Regions from separate parts of the Homo sapiens genome. Here regions 1, 2, 4, 5, 6 and 7 are each linked to region 3. Evidence: promoter capture Hi-C in 16 types of primary human blood cells and fetal thymus (Javierre and others, 2016). All regions are on one chromosome and are shown on one strand. Each heading gives the region's core, a stretch centred on a gene start or on the middle of the fragment in contact. The rest is flanking DNA. Distances are from core to core; before and after follow the strand shown. Region 1 has its middle 3.4 kb from the start of LINC00382. Region 2 has its middle 230 kb from the start of LINC00377. Region 3 holds the start of SPRY2 (sprouty RTK signaling antagonist 2). Region 4 overlaps LINC00382 (long intergenic non-protein coding RNA 382). Region 5 has its middle 170 kb from the start of LINC00377. Region 6 has its middle 29 kb from the start of LINC01038. Region 7 has its middle 20 kb from the start of LINC00382.

The links. The method cuts DNA at HindIII sites, captures the fragments that hold promoters and counts their contacts. A CHiCAGO score of 5 or more calls a contact.
Region 1: a fragment that was not itself captured here is called in contact with the fragment with the promoter of SPRY2 in region 3 in 6 of 17 cell types (monocytes, neutrophils, M0 macrophages and 3 more); the score reaches 10.2 in monocytes.
Region 2: a fragment that was not itself captured here is called in contact with the fragment with the promoter of SPRY2 in region 3 in 1 of 17 cell types (naive B cells); the score reaches 6.2 in naive B cells.
Region 4: a fragment that was not itself captured here is called in contact with the fragment with the promoter of SPRY2 in region 3 in 5 of 17 cell types (M1 macrophages, M0 macrophages, endothelial precursors and 2 more); the score reaches 5.7 in M1 macrophages.
Region 5: a fragment that was not itself captured here is called in contact with the fragment with the promoter of SPRY2 in region 3 in 2 of 17 cell types (total B cells and naive B cells); the score reaches 5.6 in total B cells.
Region 6: a contact is called between a fragment that was not itself captured here and the fragment with the promoter of SPRY2 in region 3, in 1 of 17 cell types (M1 macrophages). The highest score is 5.5, in M1 macrophages.
Region 7: a fragment that was not itself captured here is called in contact with the fragment with the promoter of SPRY2 in region 3 in 4 of 17 cell types (M0 macrophages, M1 macrophages, monocytes and 1 more); the score reaches 8.1 in M0 macrophages.

What each region holds. Positions count from the first base shown.
Region 1 is chr13:79,867,771-79,870,635 of GRCh38, forward strand. No RefSeq gene overlaps it. Among named protein-coding and RNA genes, the nearest start is that of LINC00382, 3.4 kb to the right of the region's middle. The HindIII fragment of the contact is 2,686 bases long and covers 69-2,754 here.
Region 2 is chr13:80,784,252-80,787,158 of GRCh38, forward strand. No RefSeq gene overlaps it. Among named protein-coding and RNA genes, the nearest start is that of LINC00377, 230 kb to the right of the region's middle. The HindIII fragment of the contact is 2,893 bases long and covers 110-2,907 here.
Region 3 is chr13:80,339,780-80,342,573 of GRCh38, forward strand. SPRY2 (sprouty RTK signaling antagonist 2) reads right to left here and starts at 1,347. Exons shown (of 2, transcript NM_005842.4): 1 at 843-1,347. RefSeq lists silencers at 1,295-1,484, 1,715-1,764. The HindIII fragment of the contact is 9,098 bases long and covers 1-2,794 here.
Region 4 is chr13:79,895,421-79,898,199 of GRCh38, forward strand. The region is part of intron 1 of LINC00382 (long intergenic non-protein coding RNA 382); the gene reads left to right. Among named protein-coding and RNA genes, the nearest start is that of LINC00382, 24 kb to the left of the region's middle. The HindIII fragment of the contact is 2,831 bases long and covers 46-2,779 here.
Region 5 is chr13:80,842,066-80,844,990 of GRCh38, forward strand. No RefSeq gene overlaps it. Among named protein-coding and RNA genes, the nearest start is that of LINC00377, 170 kb to the right of the region's middle. The HindIII fragment of the contact is 1,788 bases long and covers 591-2,378 here.
Region 6 is chr13:79,832,006-79,834,820 of GRCh38, forward strand. No RefSeq gene overlaps it. Among named protein-coding and RNA genes, the nearest start is that of LINC01038, 29 kb to the left of the region's middle. The HindIII fragment of the contact is 1,388 bases long and covers 597-1,984 here.
Region 7 is chr13:79,851,054-79,853,753 of GRCh38, forward strand. No RefSeq gene overlaps it. Among named protein-coding and RNA genes, the nearest start is that of LINC00382, 20 kb to the right of the region's middle. The HindIII fragment of the contact is 2,133 bases long and covers 275-2,407 here.

The sequences.
Region 1 (2,865 bases), core at 162-2,661, 470 kb before region 3:
TATACCTGAAATGGACTTAGAGAGTCTAAGAACCTTGCCTAAAGAGATAGCAATCAATATCAGAGCTAAGCTTTAAGTAAACCCTAGATAATCTGAGTTTTTTTCTGAATAAGATGGCATCTCTGAAATCTTACTGTATATAAATTGTTACAGGCATTGTGTCTTGAATAACTAATGATTTTTGTCATGACAAAGAATTAGACAATAACTGGGTACTTTCAACAAGAAAGATGTAAGGATTCTTCTTGTTGTTTGTTTTTATGGCTATGCTGAATTTGGGATTTTCTTCTTATAAAATTATTTTTGTAATTATACAGATAAAAGACCATATCATAAAATGAGAAAAAGACATGAAGATGCTTTAAAATTAAAAGAAGTCTATTGTTATTAGTACTGTACTTTAGGTTTAGATAATATAAGTATCAACAGAAAAATAAAAACATACTGGAAATTCAATATAACGTGTTATTGTTTTTGTTGTTTTCTATTGTTTATCTAAGAGAAGATACATCAGGCTTCACAAATCAGGGGTTTTCTGGAGATATCAAAAATCATCCCCCAAAATGATAATGATGTGAGGTGATGAATACGTTAATTTGCTTTACTTAATCATTGCACTGTATATAAATGAACATTACATTGTGTGCCATGCATCTATACAATTTTCACTTGTCAATTAAAAATAAATTTAAAAAAAGACCTTTCTTCAGATATTATTAGTGAGGTGGTCCCTCCTCATGACTCTTAAGGAAAATTAAGGACAAAACAAGCAAATATAACAACATTTCCAATAGAAACCTGAGAATGTGGTTCATATGCCCCCAAATCTCTCTATAATTCTAGCCAAATACTTTTTTTCCGGTTATCTCTCTTCAAACTTTATGTTTAATAAAGAAAATTTATCTTTTTTTTCCTCCTTTTTTCTTTGGTTTTTGGTGTCTTAAATAATGCCAGACAATTCGGTTTGTTCTAGCAGTCACTTGATTCAACAGCTGTGATAATGAATAAAAAAAAGAACAGTGTAGGTAAATGAACTTACAAAAATGTCAAATTTATTAGATTGGACAAATCACTGACCTACATTTCAAGTCCTGAAGATTAAAGTTGTACTCTGGTGTGAGGTCATGAAACTCTCAAGTTAAAGGTATAAGAGACTTTTTTTTTCCCAACAAGTAAACAAAAACATTTTTTCTCACCTTGCTCAGGGTAAGATTTTATTTCTGTTATTAATGCTAAGCTATTTCTATTATATATAATATATATAATATAAATATAGTATATAATATTTCTATAATAGCTTAGGTACTTTTGACTTAATGAAAGATTCGGAAACAAAACTTATTTTGGATTTATTTTTGCCTGACATGAATCATTTCTTATTTTTTCCTGTAGTTGGAATTCACTTCATGAAATGTGTTAGTCTGCTTATTTCTGAGGAGGCTTGTGTTAAAATGGAACCAAACATGCTATGTGTTGATACGCTCCAAATATTCATTACCAGGTACACACAGGTACTCAGGCTCGCTCCACGAGACTGTTAATTTCACTAGTTGAGGGAATTTTAATCTCCGAGATTGACCTCTTTCAGAAACAAAGGGGGAGGGAGATAGAGAAAGAAAAAGTACACACCTGCAACCTATTTCTTTTTGAAGCAAAGCCTTTGAGCAGATGGAAGATGAGATAGAGAGAGAAAACAGGCCAATTGCCAAGAGAGGTTTGTTTACAATACAGGCAAGTTCCTTCAGAAGTTGATAGAGAGCTGTTGTCATGGAAATGAAGGGAAATATTGCTGCAGGGTTCCACAGAACAAATTCCTACTACAAATATACCTGGATTTAAAGGTGACGGAGATGGGAAGGGGGGCAAAGAGCTTCCTGAAAAAGTTTTAAGTAATGCTTTTCTGCATATCTTTGAGGTGTTCCTCAGAACCTGAGAATTCCTTGCCTTGTGGTATGCAAAATAGGCAATCAAAATAAACGTTGCCGTTCTTTCTGTATTACATGGAATTCCTAACAAGAATAAGAGAATTAGTGTTCAAGTGAGAAGTCAACAGTACATGTATCTCAATTCTGGAACATTGACTATTGTTTAAAAGACTTCTGAGAAGTACACTATTATTGTTAAAAACATACCAAAAAGATGTTTTTTTTTAAAATCCCTACTGCAGTAACACAGGTAAAGTGCCTACACCATAAGGTACTACAAAACACTGTTTTCAGTGTACAAATATCAACCTTTAACAAATTAAATAGAATCTATTCCCCCGCCTTGCCCTCCACAAAAACAAAAACAACCCCTCAATTTATAATTTATTGCCTGCTTCAAAATCTAGTCTTTGCTTTAACTTTGACCACTATGACTTTCTACTGTTTTTAAAAGAAAATCTTTTCACAAATTAGTTTTTTGAAATGTAAATTGTTTTGTGGACAAAAGTTAGTCCTGCAAATCTTCAGCTTTACAAATTCCTTATTAGGAAGTGCTTAGTAAGCTATTTTCTGGCTTTTCTCCTTTCTCCAACAGTTCCAGCAGAGGATGATGTCATTTTTCCCTTTTCCTGTTCCACCTCCCACCCTTTTATCCCACTAAGTTTCTTGTTAGGCTTTAATTGAACACAGCAACACCTGTGTTTCTTTACTGGACTTCAAACTACTATTTCCAATCCATTTCTTCAGCTGCTTACAGGGTTGTTTTCATTAACAACAGATAATTAGCAACTTCACACAGATTGAGGAAAACAATCTAGAAGCCTATAGAAGCTTCTGTGGCCTGTTGCTCATATTAAATTAAGTGTAGATGCTAATGATCAAGACTTGACATTGTTTATTAGATATTGTAGCACAGGGTTATAAAAAAAAAAAGCAGGAA
Region 2 (2,907 bases), core at 306-2,805, 440 kb after region 3:
TATTCCTCCCCGAAACACTCAATATGCTTCATATTCAAGCCAGAAACATTGTGCGTTAGAATAATCTAAAGATGAATCTAGTCGGAAGTTATCTTGAAATGTGTGAGCAAGCTTCTCTTTCATACACCAGCTGTTTTCTTTCCATCAAATGTTTACTGGGTGGGGGATCAGCCTGTGTTTTTTTTAATGCAGTAGCAAGAATGTTTTGTGTGTTCTGAAAGAACCTATGAGGCCTTTCAATGTAGAAGGGAGGAAGAATGGTTCATCATGAGTTCAGGGAAATTTTGGAGTCTCTTATAATATCACATCCTCAAATTTGGGAATATTTTTTCTTTATAAAGCATGTTGAAAAATTATTTCATGGCTGCTAGTTCCCAATGTCAGACTGTTTGTGACAAAATTGTTAAAATAGCATTGCTATGGGTATAAAAAAATTTCACAAGCATTTTGTAATGTGCCATGGGATTTATAATAAGTTTTAACATATATGATTTCCTATTTTATCCACTCAAGGAAAAAATTATGTTGTTGGATATTTTTAATAGGTTCATTAGCTTTAAAAATCAAAATAAGGAAAATATTCTTGGTAATGGGAAAATGTTGTTTAATGACATTCACTTACTTAAAACATGTTAATTGCTATAAGCATATCAAGAATCAAAGTATAATTTCTGGTGTGGTTTTCAGGACTCTTATGAAGTCCCAAACTCACTCTTGTCAAACAGTATAATTCATCCTAAAATATCCAAATATTCTAGCATCTCATCTACTGTTCTCTCTGTCTGAAATGCCCTTTCCTATCAATTTTCTGTATTACAGTTCTAACCACTACCAAAGATACTTTCTAAAAACTAAGTTTAAAAAGAGTTAAGTTTTTAAAATCTTCCTTAGCTAATTGGTTCTTTCCAATCCTCCCCTCCAGAAATAATCACATTTTAACTATTTGATGGTTTGAATAGCATTTGCATATCATTTTTGACAATGTAGTTTGAAACTGCAGTGATATCTATCTCTTATTGAACATGCACTGCTTTCAGACTCTGCTAGATGGGCTACTATCCCTACAGTTTTTTTGAGACTACTATAATATTATCATTTCCATTTACAAATAAGGAAACAAAGTTCAGGAAACATTAATAAATTTGCTCAAGGTTACTTAATACTCATTGGTGAAACGCATTTGAATCCAAATGTACCTGACTAAAAAGCCTTTTTTTTTTTTCTGTTCTAGTTTTGTGGATGTTTTTTTGTGGATATGCACTGATAGCAGGGCCTGATCTTAATCCTTCTAGATTTCAACTCACCTACTTCTGCACTGAACTTTACTGCACTAAATTGAATCTGTAAAATTCCAGCCTAGTTTATTAGAAAAATGGAATAAAACTACCATTGGTTCTATTTAGACAGTTGTCTCAGATTCCACCACTTTTACATATGAAATAATAATTCTAATATATATAGATGAAATGCATATGGATTTTATGTATGCATGTGTAGGTGTGTGGTATTACAATCCACAGATTATTTAAGACAGAAGATAATTTATGTTAAATACCTGTCACTCACATTTTCTCAAATTTACTGAATTCTTAATGTTAATTTTGGTGGTTAAAAGAAGTCATAATTTTTACCTGTTCAATGTTCTTTATTTTATTTTGGTACTATTTGGTTAGTTGCTTTTTCTGAGAATTTCTTTAATTTTTAAAATTTGTCATGAATTAATTTATAGAAGGTAGGTGTGATTTATTTGCCATGAGCATTGAACTTTGTTTCTTGAAAACAAATAACACTAAGATCTTTGAGAACCTACACGTATTTATGGAAACTATGAGGGTGGTGGGAGTAGCTTAGAAACAATGACAACTATAGCCTTTGAACCAAAGAAATATTTTTAAATTTTCTCTATTCAACGTCTGTGCCAGCATGTGTTGCCTCTTAGGCAATAAACAATTATGGTTACGTAGACACCTAACACATTATTTATCCTGTTAAAGTTTGATTTAAAAATCTGTGGCTATACCAATTTCAATGTAATTTAGGTATATATATATGTAATTTACAGTATATATATGTGTGTGCATGTGTCTTTGTGTGTACATCTTTAAGAAAAAAGTTATTAACTTAATTGTGCAAAATCCATACTGTTTTGGTTCCTCTCTTCTTTAAAATGTGATAAAACTTACATAGGTCATCAACGTTGAGCATTCTTACAAGTATAAATTTATAACAGTGTCATTTGGTAATAAAATTCTTAAGTATAAGATGCAGTCTATGCCATAAAAACATCTACAGTCTATTTGTGTATTTATGTGATTATTGAAAGAGATAAAACAACACTTCCCCTGGCTCCAGTCTTTCTTGTTTCCAAACCATCCTTTATTGTCAATTAGAGGAATTTTTCTAAAACACAAACATTAATATAATCTATTCCTGCTTGAAGTTCTTCATGAACTCCATGACTTCTATGATAAAGTTCAGATTTGTTGGTTTAGCAATCCATATTATTCTTGACACAGTTCCTGCCCACTTCTCTAGCCTTAACATCATCCTAAATACACCCTTGATGACAAGACATACTTCCTTTGGTTTCCTGAATTCAACAAATTATTTGGGGAAATCTGGAGACATTTAGTGAAGGAAGTGATGTTTAAAATGGCTCTTAAAGGAGATCCGGAGACTGACAAGTGGAGCAAGGGGCAGTGGGTGCAGGTGTGCCTGGTATGAGGTGTTGAGCATTAGGACTGAGGGCTGGTACGAGCAGAGGGGAAGATATTGGTAGTAAAGGGAAGAGAGAGAGTTTCTTAGAAGAGTAAATGGATTGTGAGCTAGTACCTGGATGAGGGGGAGGGGCATTGTGTTCTAACTCACAGATTGCCAGAACCCATTTAGAGTTGGAAGGGGCCTCAG
Region 3 (2,794 bases), core at 97-2,596:
AACACACAAGAATCCAAATTAAAACACAGCAACAACAACAACAAAAGGAAATAAAAAATTGCCTATTTTGCCACCTACTTTCAGGTAATGGAAAATGATCGCGACCGCTTGATGACTTTCTTCCTGCGCTGGGTCAGCCCGAGCTTCCAAAAATAAAATAAGTGTGACCCAGGCTGACCACGAAGAACGGAAGAGAGAGAGCTGCACTTCCGAACCGCAGAGACCCGGCGCCAGGCAGGGCGACGCTCCCACCCGCTCCGGGCTAGACTGTCCACACGGAGCAGAGGCGGGCACTCCCTCCACCCGGCACCCTGCCTTTTTCTCACCCTGGAAGTCTCCTGCCCCCGAGGCGGGCAACCTGTGTCCCCCAGCCCCACCAGCGCCCCGCCTAGGGACAGCCTCTCCCTGGACTTTGCCTTCCACCAAGAGGAAGAACAGGTTAGAAATGCGGGCGCCTGCAAAGGCAACCTGGAAAATACAAAGTGTTTTTCTCTCCCTCTCCCGCTCTCAGCGCCGAATTCGCGGCCAGTGCACGGCTGGGAGCAGACTTCAGGCTAGCTGTCCTCCGTCCCAACCCCCTAGAGCGCGGGCGCGCGGGGTCGCCTGTCGGGGACACTGCACGGGGTGCATACAGAAGTCCCCGCAGAGGCAGGCCGAGCCCAAGCCCCGGGCGAGGCAGGTCCGCGGGGAGCGCCCCGGATCCTCGCGAAGACCCTGCGGGATTTGAGAAAGGGAGGCTCGGGGAGAGACGGACCCAACTCCTGGTCCGGCTGCACCTACTCCATGTTGCCCACAACGCGCCGGCCGCGGCGCCAGGAGGGGAAGAGCCAAACGTGCCTCACCGTGATCGCGGCTTTGCACCAACCCCTCTCCCTTGGATTCTCTTCTTTCTGCGATGTGCAAATAAATCCAGTCTCGATGCAAACTTTTTTCCTTTCTTTCCAACCTCTGCTTTAGACCAACTTCCGAGCAATCGGCGGGAGAAAAAAAGAGAATTCGGAGCCAGATTCCCCGCTGATGAACACTCCGGGGTTCGGAGCTGGAGACGACTCCCCTTCTACAAGCGCACGCGGAGTATTTCCTCTTTTTTCTCAATGAACAAGAGGCCGAAGCGCCAACGGCAAGTCCCTTTTCCTGGCAGATGAGCGAATGGGAAAAGAAAACGGCCTTACGGAGAACCTAAAGCCAGATCGCCAAGTGGTGCGGCCGGGGCCGCGTCGTAGCGGAGGCGGCGCGGGGGCGCGGGCCGGGCCGGGCCGGGCGGGCGCGGGGGCCTGGGCGCTGCGCGCTCCGCCGGCCCCTCTCCTCCGCTAGCGCTGCGGCGCGCAGCTCTCGGCGGTGCAGACTGGGCGTTGTGGAGGCGAGGCAGCGAGGCCGAGGCGGGGGCGGTGGGTGCGGAGGAGGAGGAAGAGGAGGAGGAGGAGGAGGAGGAGGGTCTGGGGCCCGCCCGGGGGGGGCTCGCCGTTGGCCTGCGCCCTCGCCTTTCCGGAGGAGGCAGGGAGCTCTGCGGCGGCCGCGGCAGCAGTAAATGGCGTCATGTGGATCCGAGGCGGAACAGAGCAGTTGTTGTCCCAGAGGATATATCGCATCCGGTCCCAGCTCATTGGCTCCGCGGGGCTACATTCACTCACACTCCAGCGCCCGCCAGCGCTCCGAGCCGCAGGAGGCATTCAAAAGGGCAACCGCGCCGCCCCGCGCGTCCCCAGGCCGGTCCTGCCGCCCGAGCGCCGTCACGCGGGGCGCCCGCGGGGCCGGGCTGGGCACTGCAGGGTCAGTTTATCTAGTTTCAAGGAAACACTGACCTTAAGGTTTGCCCAGAGGCAATGAGGACGAGCCAGAGGCTCGAGCTGACTTAGGGAACTTTCTCCTTGCCACCAGGAAAGGGGAATGAACATTTAAGACTAATCTGGGCCACGCAGTGTTAGCATGAAAAACAAGTTGCAGGTTTTAAGACTTTATCCAGAATCCATTTCAAGTCTACCTCTCCCCTTTTCTGTTCCCCTTTGCGGAGCGGGTGACGGGGGCTGGGGCGGGGGGAGAAGAAGGGGGAGGGGAAGGGGAGCGGGAAGTGAGGTGGGAGGGCTATTGGTTTATTCTTTGTCTACTGGATTAACCCGATTATACACCAGGCACCAGCACAAACCGCCTCCCCCACCTCCGAGCCTTGTACGGGAGGAACGGAATGCAGATTCGAGTTTCAAGTACCTTCTGCTCTTGCTGGGATTTGCTTTTGATTGTGTCGACTTGTAGTTTTTCCGTTTATTAGAATTTCATTTTTAAGGGGGGTTATCTATGAATGGAGGCTTTTTGAAGAGCTTCCTTACTATTTTGCTTCATGCAGTAGCTAAAGTCTACAGTCTAAGCCTTTTAACTTAATTCATTAATAGACAGGAACAAGATTACTCAGGGCGACAGCATGGGCTTCCGAAATGGGGGGGCGGGGGGGAGGGAAGGGTTGGCTCACTGCAGATTTCCTTCTTCCCTTAACTAAAAGTCATCCTTCATTTCCCACTTTTCTTGCCACCTAGAACATTTCTCAAGATTCTGTTGTCCATGTTGAAGGTGCACTATTCTTTCCCATTTACAAAAAAAAAATAAAGATAGAAAATGCATACATATGCACTGTCCTAGCTGCCGTTCATTTACTAAGAAATGTGCCTTCACGTGGGAGCACCAGTGGAAAATTAAAACTTGCGCATACACACGCCTAATATTGCATTCTGTCGAGCGACTTACAGAATGCTTTTACTTTACAGGGAAGTACCTGCTTGTACGGTCAAAATTCCCGAATAGC
Region 4 (2,779 bases), core at 211-2,710, 440 kb before region 3:
CAGACAGCACAGCAGAGATAGCTTGTTTCTGCTTCACCTGTCGGAAGCTTCAGCTTGGGAAGATTTGAAATACGGGGCATAAATCAAACCGTGAGAGGCTACATTCATCTGGAGGCTTCTTCACTTACATGTCTGGCACCCGGGCTGACATGACCTAAAGGCTGGGCTCAGATAGTTTTATCAAACAGAGCTCTGACACATGGGCTGTCCATGTGGCTCGAGCTTACTCTCAGCATGGTAGCCTCTGGGTAGCTGACCTTATGAATGTGCATTCCAGCAAAAAAGATGGCAGCTGCATGGCCTTTTGTGACCTAACCTTGGAAATCACTTCTGCTATATTGGTCAACACTGGCACAAGGCCACTAAGATGCAAGCGGAGAAGAACAGATTTGATTTCTTGATGAGAAGTTTGTCGTGGAATTCTGGTCTTGCCTTGAAAGTGCACCAGAAGGCATAGGTTTTCTCTGAATCAGCTTCATTCAGGTGTCATGGATAGCACTCAGATTGTTTACTCCATGATTCTTTGGTGACTCTATTTCAATGTGCATAGACCCTTTTCATTCTATGTGAGATGAACACTTTACTGACACAAGAGAGATAATGAAAGACTAAATTTTGCTGAGTGCTGACTGATTATATGTTTTGTCCTTATCCCCACTAAACTCATATTAGCATTACATACACCTAATCTATTCTGGGACTAGTGGCGTCTTTGAACCCCTTGGACATGTTTCTTTCCAGGGTCACTGAGCTTTTGAAGACTGCATTAGTCTGTTTTCACATTACTATAAAGAAATACATGAGACAGCATAATTTATAAAGAAAAGAGGTTTAATTGGGTCATGGTTCTGAGGCTGCAGCATGATGCTGGCATCTGCTCAGCTTCTAGGTAGGCCTCAGCAAACTTACAGTCATGGTGGAAGACAGAGGGAGCAGGCATGGCACAGGGCCAGAGCAGGAGAAAGAGAGTGAGAGGGGAGGGGCTACACACTTTTAAACAACTGGATCTCATGAGAACTCACTATCACAAGGACAGCAACAAGGGGATGGTACTAAACCATTCATGCGAAATCTGCCCCCATGATCCAGTCACCTCCCACCAGGTCCCATCTTCAACACTGGGGATTACATTTCAATATGAGATTTGAATGGGGACACACATCCAAATCATATCAGAGAGGATCTGACTTGATTGGATCAGTTTCCTCAAAGACTCTCTGTCTCCAACCAGATAACTGTATCAGACCACCATCCATGAGGAAAGATTCTCAGAGATTCTCTCACAGAGCCCTTGTCCATTATTGAGAACAAAAAAATTAGGATCCAGAGGATGAAAAAGAACTCAAATTTGTGCTTCTGTAATAAGCGTGGATTAACATAAGAATAGCAGATTTATGCATACCTAAAGTGTCAAATGCTTTATGAGAAGATGTGGGGCCTTCTAAGGAAGAGGATAAAGTTTTTGTCCTTGAAGGAACTTACCATCTTATGCAAAAGGTAGAAAAGTACATGCATCTTCTCAAGAATGTGCAGCCACTGCAGAAATATGTAAAATTAAACACACCATGGAAACATACAACTAGGTATAACCATACTTAATAGCTGAGCTGGAATGCATGAACAATTAGAGCGAGGTGGTATTAACAACAAGGAGTGCTCAGTAGTGAAGGTGCTCTTAAGGGGAGGAAATGGATTCCATAAAGATGAGATAAAGAAGGCATAGTAAGAAGGAAACCCGGAGGTCTCCCTAGGTTTCAGAGAGGTTGAGATAGTTTGAGTTCTACTTTCAGAGAGGTGTGCTTTTTGACTACATTGAAATTTTGATTCTAATTCTAGCTGCCTAGAAATATATTCCACCTAATATATTTCCTCCTACCAACTCTCTCCTCCATCCAGCTACCAAGATCATAGATTTCATGACAGCAAGCCCCCTGCATCACTAGCCTTGGTGTCTTCTGCATAATCTAGAATAATACTTTAGTGGAGGATGTGACAGGTACATTTTAATGGAATTGAATTACCTTGAGCAGACTTAGCCCTTGATACCTCATGACCAGCCCACACCTTGTTAGATGTCTATTTCCTGTGTTCCTAGGACTTCCCTGGGATTATTTTATTAGTAATAATATTATTGTAGTTTTTGAGACAGGGTCTCACTCTGTCATTCAGGCTGGAGTGCAGTGTTGCGATCTCAGCTCACTGAAACCTCCAGCTCCTGGGTTCAAGAGAATCTCGTGCCTCAGCCTCCCAAATATCTGGGACTACAGGCGTGCACCACCATGCCCAGATAATTTTTGTACTTTTAGTCGAGACAAGGTTTCTCCACATTGGCCAGGCAGGCAGGTCTCCAATTCCTAAACTCAAGTGATCTGCCTGCCTTGGCCTCCCGAAGTGCTGGGATTACAGGCATGAGCCACCATGCCTTGTCACTCTGGGGTTATTCTTGCATCTGCTTTATAATCAGAACTCTTTCCATAAAACGATGCTGTTCCTTTGGCAACCTACACAGCTGATTTCATTGAGCAGTCATATTATGCTAGTTATACTCTATTACTCTTTTGGGCATACCAGTTTTTGTTGAATGAGCTCAGGGCCTAAGCCAAATGTAAAATGTGTGTGTGTATATATATATACACATATATTTGCATGCATGTATGTGTGTATATATAAGTATATACAGATATGTAGATATCTGTTTTCAAATACTCTTAGAAAGAAAGGCCCCATCTAGATTTCATAATTATTTCTCCCTCTCCACACTTAACACATTTTTGTTTTT
Region 5 (2,925 bases), core at 235-2,734, 500 kb after region 3:
CAACGATTATAATGCGAATCATGAGGCTGCTTTTTGTGAAAAGCTTTTGAGAAAGGTTTTAGTAATATAAAGAAAGGAGAGATGGTTTGTGATTGTCATTGAACTTATTATTAAGGATACGTAAGATAGATTTTGATAGGTAGGTATAAGAACAAAAAGCAATCCAGGTAGACAGCATCTCAGTATCATAGGCAGCAAGCAAGAAAGTGAAGAGAATTTTCATGAAGTAATTGAGACTGCTCTGAGTAGTAGCCCATGTTATATTCAAAGAAACATGAATTGAGGGGGAAAAAGTTGCAGGAAACCAAAGAATGGTCAATTGAGGCCATGTTAGGCATCTCTGCAATACATAGTTAAGGAGCAGGAACAGCATTCTGCAGTCAGTGATGGACAGTGAAAGATTTATGAGGAACTGAGTCATGTAATAAGGTATATTTCTTTATTTTTAAAGCTTTTTATTGAAGCATGATTGATATATAAAATGCTGTCGATATTTCATATATATATACAACTTGATATGTTTGAAAATAAGTAAGCACCTGTGAAACACTGCCACAATAAATGTAATAAATGTACCCATTACCTCCAAAAGCTTCCTTCGGTCTGCCCCTCACTTTCAGTTGAGTTTTTTTTTCTTTTTTGGTAAGAGCACTTAAGATGAGATTTATCCCCTTAGTAAATGTTAAGTATACAATACTTAAGCCAGAGGTTAATCATAGGTCCTACATTGTACAGTATATCTTCCGAACTTACTTATCTTGCTTATCTGAAATGTTATAACCTTTGATCAACACCTTCTCATTTCCACCTACCTCAGTGCCTGGCAACCACCATTCTACTCTCTGCTTCTATGAGTCTGGCTATTTTAAAATTCCACATATGACTGAGATAATGCAGAATTTGTCTTTCTATTCCTGGCATAATGTCCACGAGGTCCATCTCTGTTAAATAATTGATCCTATTTAACGAAAAAGATTCTGAATGAAGGAAAAAGAAGCGAGATGGTCTAGTCATCTTGTCACTTCTCTTTCTGGCAATAAAGCAAACCTGGTACCTGACTGACTTTCCCACTAACAGCAACGCAAAAGCTGGTGTATGTGTGTGTGTGTGTGTGTGTGTGTGTGTGTGTGTGCACGTGCATGTGTATCAGAGATACGAAATCTGTTTATCTTTCATCACTGATGGGACAAGACAGAACTAATCCCACAGAGAATAAAAATGAAATGAAGAATATCTAGAAGCTATAAAACCATCCAAGTTTGCTTTTGCATTCATAGTTACTGAAAAAAAAAGCCTAAATAACTCGAATTTCTGCTCTGACAGATGTTTGGGATGAGAGTAGGGAGATAAAGTCTATGAAGGCTGAGGAGACCAAATAAGAGACTCCTCATATAAAGCTGGAAAATGATTTTTATTGGCATTATGAAGATGAAAGGGAATAAAACTAAGCAGAAAGTTACAGCAAAACCAAACAAATAATGTAACAGCTAAAACCTCTGTTAAACTTGGCATTTGGAGGAAAGAAAAACAGTCAACCTCACTTCATGTTGTGTTAATACAGGTATCTCTATGGTAAGAAAAACTTAGTCACTCAAGAGATTTTAGGTTGGTGGTTTCTTCTTGCAACAAGTGGTCCTAACTTTAAGAAAATATTTCTAACATCTAAAAAATTTTTAAAAATAATTTTACTCCCAAATCAGGCATAACTTTGATAAAATGACCAGGGCAGTTTAAGAAAAAAAGATCTTTCTTATAAAAAAAGTCTTAAGCCAAATAATATCAAAGAAAAGTAGCACAGTCTAAAAAAATAATGATTCAGAATGAGCCAGTTGCGTTTACCCCATAAATGAAAGCATGAATTAATGCAGGAGATACTTTGTTATTACAAAGGTTGGGTATTCACTGATTTATGTATGTGTGCATTCCTTCATATCAGTGTCTATATCCATACAAATATTATATAGACATTGAGTACCTCTTACCTTTAAGATACTGTGTGAAATATTTTATCATATATAAAAATGGATGATTGGACTCTATACTAAAAGATGTTATATAATCTAGTAGCAGGAAAAAAATTGATTAGTGTAACTCATCATGCATGTTAAGGGTATTTATTGTTTCATGATAATTAATTTCTCCATATTCCATATATAATATATAGATATATAGATATAGATATATGTGCAATTTTTATCTAAACATAGGCATTCCAAGAAGTACATTTTTTAAAAAATGTGGGCATGTGCTTTCCAAGAATAGTACACTACATTCCCCAGACTTGTTTGCAAATACATACTGCCATGGGACTAAATTCTGGCCAAAAGGCTGTGAAACAGAATGATGTATGTAACTGTTAGTTCTCTTAAATGGTAAGAAGCTTACCTGATTTCATTCTGTTTTCAATTTATGCTTATAGAAATGTTGAAATTATGTATAATGCCCTTAGAAACAATATAAATATGAAGCCACAACAACGCAGAAGGAGTCTGGAGCACATTCTGTATAAGACTTGCACTCTTCATACTGGCCTATTAAATAAAAGTAAACTTTGATCTTGAACCCATTCTTACTTGAGATTCTTTTATCGTTGTTGAATCTATATCCTAATATGCCATATTAAAGGAAAATCCATACAATAATTTCAGTAGATAAAGAAAAATTATTTAGAATGTTTCACTAAAAAATTATCAAATTGGGAATGGAAGAAAATTTTATATCCCAGTAAAAGGCATAAAAGCGTCTGCAACATCCATGATCATATTATAATTAAGATGAAATGATGTTAGCATCCTCATTAAGAATTTGATGGATTAAAGATCATCATAAATTGTTAGTCATCCTTCCTATTAAGAGCTGGTTCTTTCTTGCCTTGAATCTCGTTAGGCTCTGTGAAGAATATGCCAGAAGTGATGCCGCACCAGC
Region 6 (2,815 bases), core at 41-2,540, 510 kb before region 3:
ACCAACCCATATCAAACTGACGGGGTGTCTTGTCCTTTATCTTGACTAATTTATAAAGAAGCATGAATGTGAGGGAGAAGGGTGTAAAGGTCAACCATGTTGAGTTGTATATTGGATGTTGTTGTATGTATGAAGAGTTGCAAAATAAAAATTAAGATGGTGTCCTCCGAATGTTGGACAACTTTGACCATCTGGGTCACCTAAATATAGATGTTATACTGCTAGTCTCTATGGGCTATGTATAGAGTTTTCAGTGTTGTTTCATGTGATGACAATCACTTTAAAGTTTGGCAGCTGAGTCTGCTAATAGGATGGGTTCTCTGTACAATGTAAACTTCTGGTACCTTTGGCTCAGAATTCCAGTCACCTGCCTGCTCACCTGTTTTCTCCTGTTAACATTCACTGAAGCCAAGCAATTGTAAAATTCTTCTGTTAAGACCTGTTGGAAACCCATGCCAACAATGGTAAGGTCAACTCAAAAGTATGGATAAGTTACAATTGTTAAAGAATAAAGCCCATCTACACTGGCTTGGACCAAACTTTTATGCTCGCCTCAGTCCATTAAATGGAAGAGTGCTCTGTCCTGCATTTATTCAAGCTTCCTCCACGCACTCAGTGTAATCCTGATTACTATTTTGTGATGGGATAGCCCATCTCCTTCTGGAAACTTTCTAGACAAGTGGATTTAGGGGCTGAAATTACACTCATACTTATGTTGGGGTCTTCTTCTTTCAGGGTGGGCTGTACTCAGGTGTAAAGATGTCAGTATTGATAGTGTAGGGCACTATTTAGCCATTTTATAATGTATACCTATTTCAAAATGTTGTAAACCATAAATATATACAATTTCTATTTGTTAATTAAAAAAGAAACAATTTAAATATACACATGCACAAAAGAAATACATAAAAATAGAAATAAAAGTTAAGAGAAACTATGGAAAGCTAGAGAAATGCTTCATTTTCCTCATGTTAAAAATTGTAATTATATATACTATAAAACATATATAATTCCTTTACATAATTATAACATCATTATTTATATAATTATATATAAAGGAATATACCAATAAATATATTTTATATACAGTTATATCACACACACACACAAACACACACACATATCAATACACCAATAAAAGAAAAACATCCTATCAGAAAAAAGCAAAATAAAACCCAGCAGACACCAAAGAAAAATGCAATACATAGACGGGGTCAGTGTTTTCTCTTATTGGTTAATTTCAGAATAGCATATTCACATATGTGTATGTGTATATATACATATGTGTGTGTCTGTGTGTATATTTGATACAGTACTATACTTACTAAATATATATAATTATATTTTTCATATATATGATTATACCAATATGAGAAAAATACCCTGTCAGAAAAAAATAAAATAAAAACCAGCAGGACCCCAATTGAAACGTAGCACAAATGAGTGGTCAGTGTATCTCGCTGGCCTTACACAAATAAAAGATTCTATGATAAATTCACAGATAATCTGATAATAAAAAGTACTCTCAATGAGGCAATCAGTGACTCCTTCTGCCATTCCTTCCCTAATTACTTTCGAAACTTAGTTATTATGAAAGATAAATTAGTTTTTTAATTTTTTTTTCAATTGATGGCTTTATAAAGAAAGCTCTTTGTTTAGCCGTCACTTCCTAAGACAAGATTCGGTATGGATCCGGTGGCAGTGAAGACCGTCCCTATATCTCCCCAGCAATGGAAGTATTATGGGGACTTCTTTATAGTAGAGGAGTAAGGCGGAATTCTGGAGTATTCTGGGGAGCCAGCTAGGGTGGCTATCTGAACCACAAGTGTGATGTTAAAAATAGAAAAATAAAAAGTAAACTTACTGTTTTAGCCAGTGAGATTTAGGGTTAATTTTTTTTCTTTATTGCGACCTAACCTAGATAAGCCTGACTACTTCAAATTCTTAATGAATAATGGAACCCAAAGTAAAGAGGAGAGAAAAAAGCTTGCAATACACATTTATTACTTGTTTTTCCTAAAGAGGGCTGGATATTATGGTAGATTACTAGGCATTTAAAAGAAGGCCCTACCTTTATTTGTTTACTTGAAACACTGGTCCATTGCACGTTTTTGCAGAGGAATGACCAAATTAAAAACACAACAGAGAAAAGCAGATGTTGAGGGCCCCAAGGGGATCATGTTATGTTACTTCATTTTCTAACTGAGTTTATTTTTCTGTTGCTGAATCTGGAGAAATCTGGGCAGATGTTTCCAAAAGGAGAAAAATAGATAAATATCCAGACATCTCAGCAAAGCAGGAAGCCAGGAAATCTAAAGAAGCCTTCAGCCTTCAGATAAATGGGAAAAGGTTGAATCCTCTGGAAGTGAGCTGGTGCATGTGTGAGTTGGGGGTGACTCTGGCTCTGACCCTGTGCCCCCTGGCATCACAGGTGGTGAGAAAAGCACAAAGGCAACTTGGATGAGATGTGGCTTGGAGCACTTTACAGGGGCCAGATTGTAAATTTATCCATTTAGGAGTGTCCTGCAGGGGTTCCCACCAGCTCTGTGGACAAAGCTAAAGCTGGAAGGAACAAAACCTGTCCATAAAAGTTCCTGTTATTGCCACTGTTTATTAAAGAGAGGTAATAAACAAATGTATTATGTGCTGTTTCCTACTCTAGATGCATTTCTACCTTTTTGACCCAAAGTGTGTACACATGTATGCAGTTATGATGGCCCAGATTTTATTCCTAGAGCCTCCTGTTTTTTTTTTTTTTTCTAGTGACAGTACACCTATTGGATGTACACAGGCCTCTGAATACTCTCCCAGCTCT
Region 7 (2,700 bases), core at 91-2,590, 490 kb before region 3:
AGAAATGTGGGCAGTACTCTGTGTTCCAGAGAATTAGAGCTCCTGGAAAGTGGTGGACCTAAAGAGTGCTGGTTGTTTAATTGATACCGACCTCAATGGAATTGTTTGGTTTGTATTCTTGGCCCTGACTCAACATTTTTGCTAATAATTTGCATTATGATAAAGGAGGTTAAGTGCTTACCAAACTTACAGCTAAAGAAAATTGAGGCAGAATAAGTAAGCTGACTGTTACGGCTGTAATGTAAAAAGAACTAAAAATTGAAAAGATGGCCCAAGCTTTATAAAATGCATTTTAATAAATCTAAATGTGAAGGCTTACATTTAGATTCCAAAAATTAGCCATATATTTCTAGGGTAAAGGACACCTGATTCAGAAATAACTCATAAAATTATGAATAAAACATCTTATGAGTCACTATAAAGAAAGGATTCTAAAAGCTAATGCAATCTTAGGCTAATGAATAGAACTAAATAATCATCTCCTTACACCATGCTCTGGTCTGGTCAGACCCTGGGGGAACACTGCATTTGGTTCCAGGTCATGTGGATCAGAAGGGACATGAGCATGCTGTTACTCTATGGAGACTGTAAGGAAAGTAGAAGCCAAGACAGTTGATCAATAGTTGAAAGAATGTTGGATAACTGGTCTGGGAAAGAGTAATCCTCAAAGATTTAGGATATCTATTGTAAAATATCTCGAAATACTGAATGTCAGGGAATACCGATTCAATATTTTTGCATAGCACCTCAAAGGGAAAAAGTAGTATACAAATGTGAAAACTGCAGTGAGCTAGATTTAATTTAACCATTAGGAAACACGTGGTAGAACATTGGAATGTCTACGAGTGGGAAGTGTTGTCTTGTAGAGCAGTGAGCTTCCTGTCAAGAGAAGTGTCTGTGTATGGGCAGAAAGACATCAGTGTTGGAGAACAGATTGTGTTAGATAGCATCTAGGGTTCTCTCCATGTTAAAATCCTTTGGATTTTAACCCAGTAGCCCTCACTGTCTGCTGAATCCATTGTGAATAAGGAGACAAATTTGAACATGATCAGTTATGAGCCAATTACTTAGTAGTGAAGGGAGAAATTCAGCCAAACAAAGCATGGAGCCCTGGAGATGCAACTCGCCACAGTAATAAGTAAGGGTTCAAAACAAAATCAAAAGGAGGCCCCACATAAAAACACCCTTCAGCCGAGCACAGTGGCTCACGCCTGTAATCCCAGTACTTTGGGAGTCTGAGGCGGGCAGATCACGAGGTCAAGAGATCGAGACCATCCTGGCCAACATGGTGAAACCCCGTCTCTACTAAAAATACAGAAATTAGCTGGGCGTTCTGGTGCTTGCCTGTAGTTCCAGCTACTCGGGAGGCTGAGGCAGGAGAATCGCTTGAACCCGGGAGACGGAGGTGCAGTGAGCAGAGATCCTGCCATTGCACTCCAGCCTGGTGACAGAGCGAGACTCTGTCTCAAAAAAAAAAAAAAAAAAACACCCTTCAAACGAAAAACATCTCAAGGATCTTGTTTAAGATTTGAGTAAAGAAATAAATCAGGGATGGTGGGGGGTAGGTAAGAAGGTGAATAGTTTGCAGTGAGTCATGAAACAAGGTCCAGAATAAGTAGATGGAATCAGTGTTAAGAGTACATTTAGGCCGGGTGCGGTAGCTCACACCTGTAATCCTAGCACTTTGGGAGGCCAAGGTGGGTGGATCACGAGGTAGGGAGTTTGAGACCAGCCTGGCCAACATGGTGAAACCCCATCTCTACTAAAAATACAAAAATTAACCAGGTGTGGTGGCAGGTGCCTGTAATCCCAGCTACTCGGGAGGCGGAGGCAGGAGAATTGTTTGAACCCGGGAGGCAGAGGTTTCAGTGGGCCGAGATCATGGCACTGCACTCCAGCCTGGGTGACAAGAGCAAGACTCCGTCTCAAAAAAAAAAAAAAAGTACATTTAAGGAGAAAAACAATCAACCTATACAGTATTCAGATATGGAAAGTGAGGAATGCCAGTGGAGCATAACAATTAGAAAAGTCAGAATTATTCTTCCTGAAGGAAACCAGCCTGTGCTCAGCCTACCCAGAGGAATGGAGCTTGGAGGACTTCTATTTGATTCCTTTTGGAAGAGTACCTTGAGGTGTGCCTTTTTCCTCCTTTTACCTGCCAGAGGTATAGACATTGTGCAGTTCTAGCTGAAAGACACATGCTGCTAGACATTCAAAGGGAGGAGAAAATAAAGCCAGCTCAAAAGAAAGAGTAGTTAAAAAAATTGTTTGAAGGAATAATTCCTTCCTATACTCTGCAAGAAAGGGATATTTTCGGAGACAAGAGTTTCCTAACAAAGGTGAATTAGCAAGGAGGATGCCAAGAGCAATGATCTAAGCAGCAAATAATTTGGAGACTGGTTTAAGAAGCTTGGGTTGAAGGATAATCCTCAGCTGATGCCAGTGCTAGGGAGTTCATTAATAAGAAGGGAAAGGGGACAAGTGGAATAGATAAAATCTACTTACAAGAAAGCATAGTTAATAGACAAAATAAAACAAGGCAGGTGTGTAATGGAAGTAGAAGCAATTAACTTTGAAATGGCAGGATTTGTCAGGGGAAAGGTAAGCAGACTGAATAATTTTGTTTGGAACAGGAAAAAAGGAAGGTGATAGAAAGACTGATAATTACAGAGTGAGAAGAATGTTCTTTTTCAGGATACA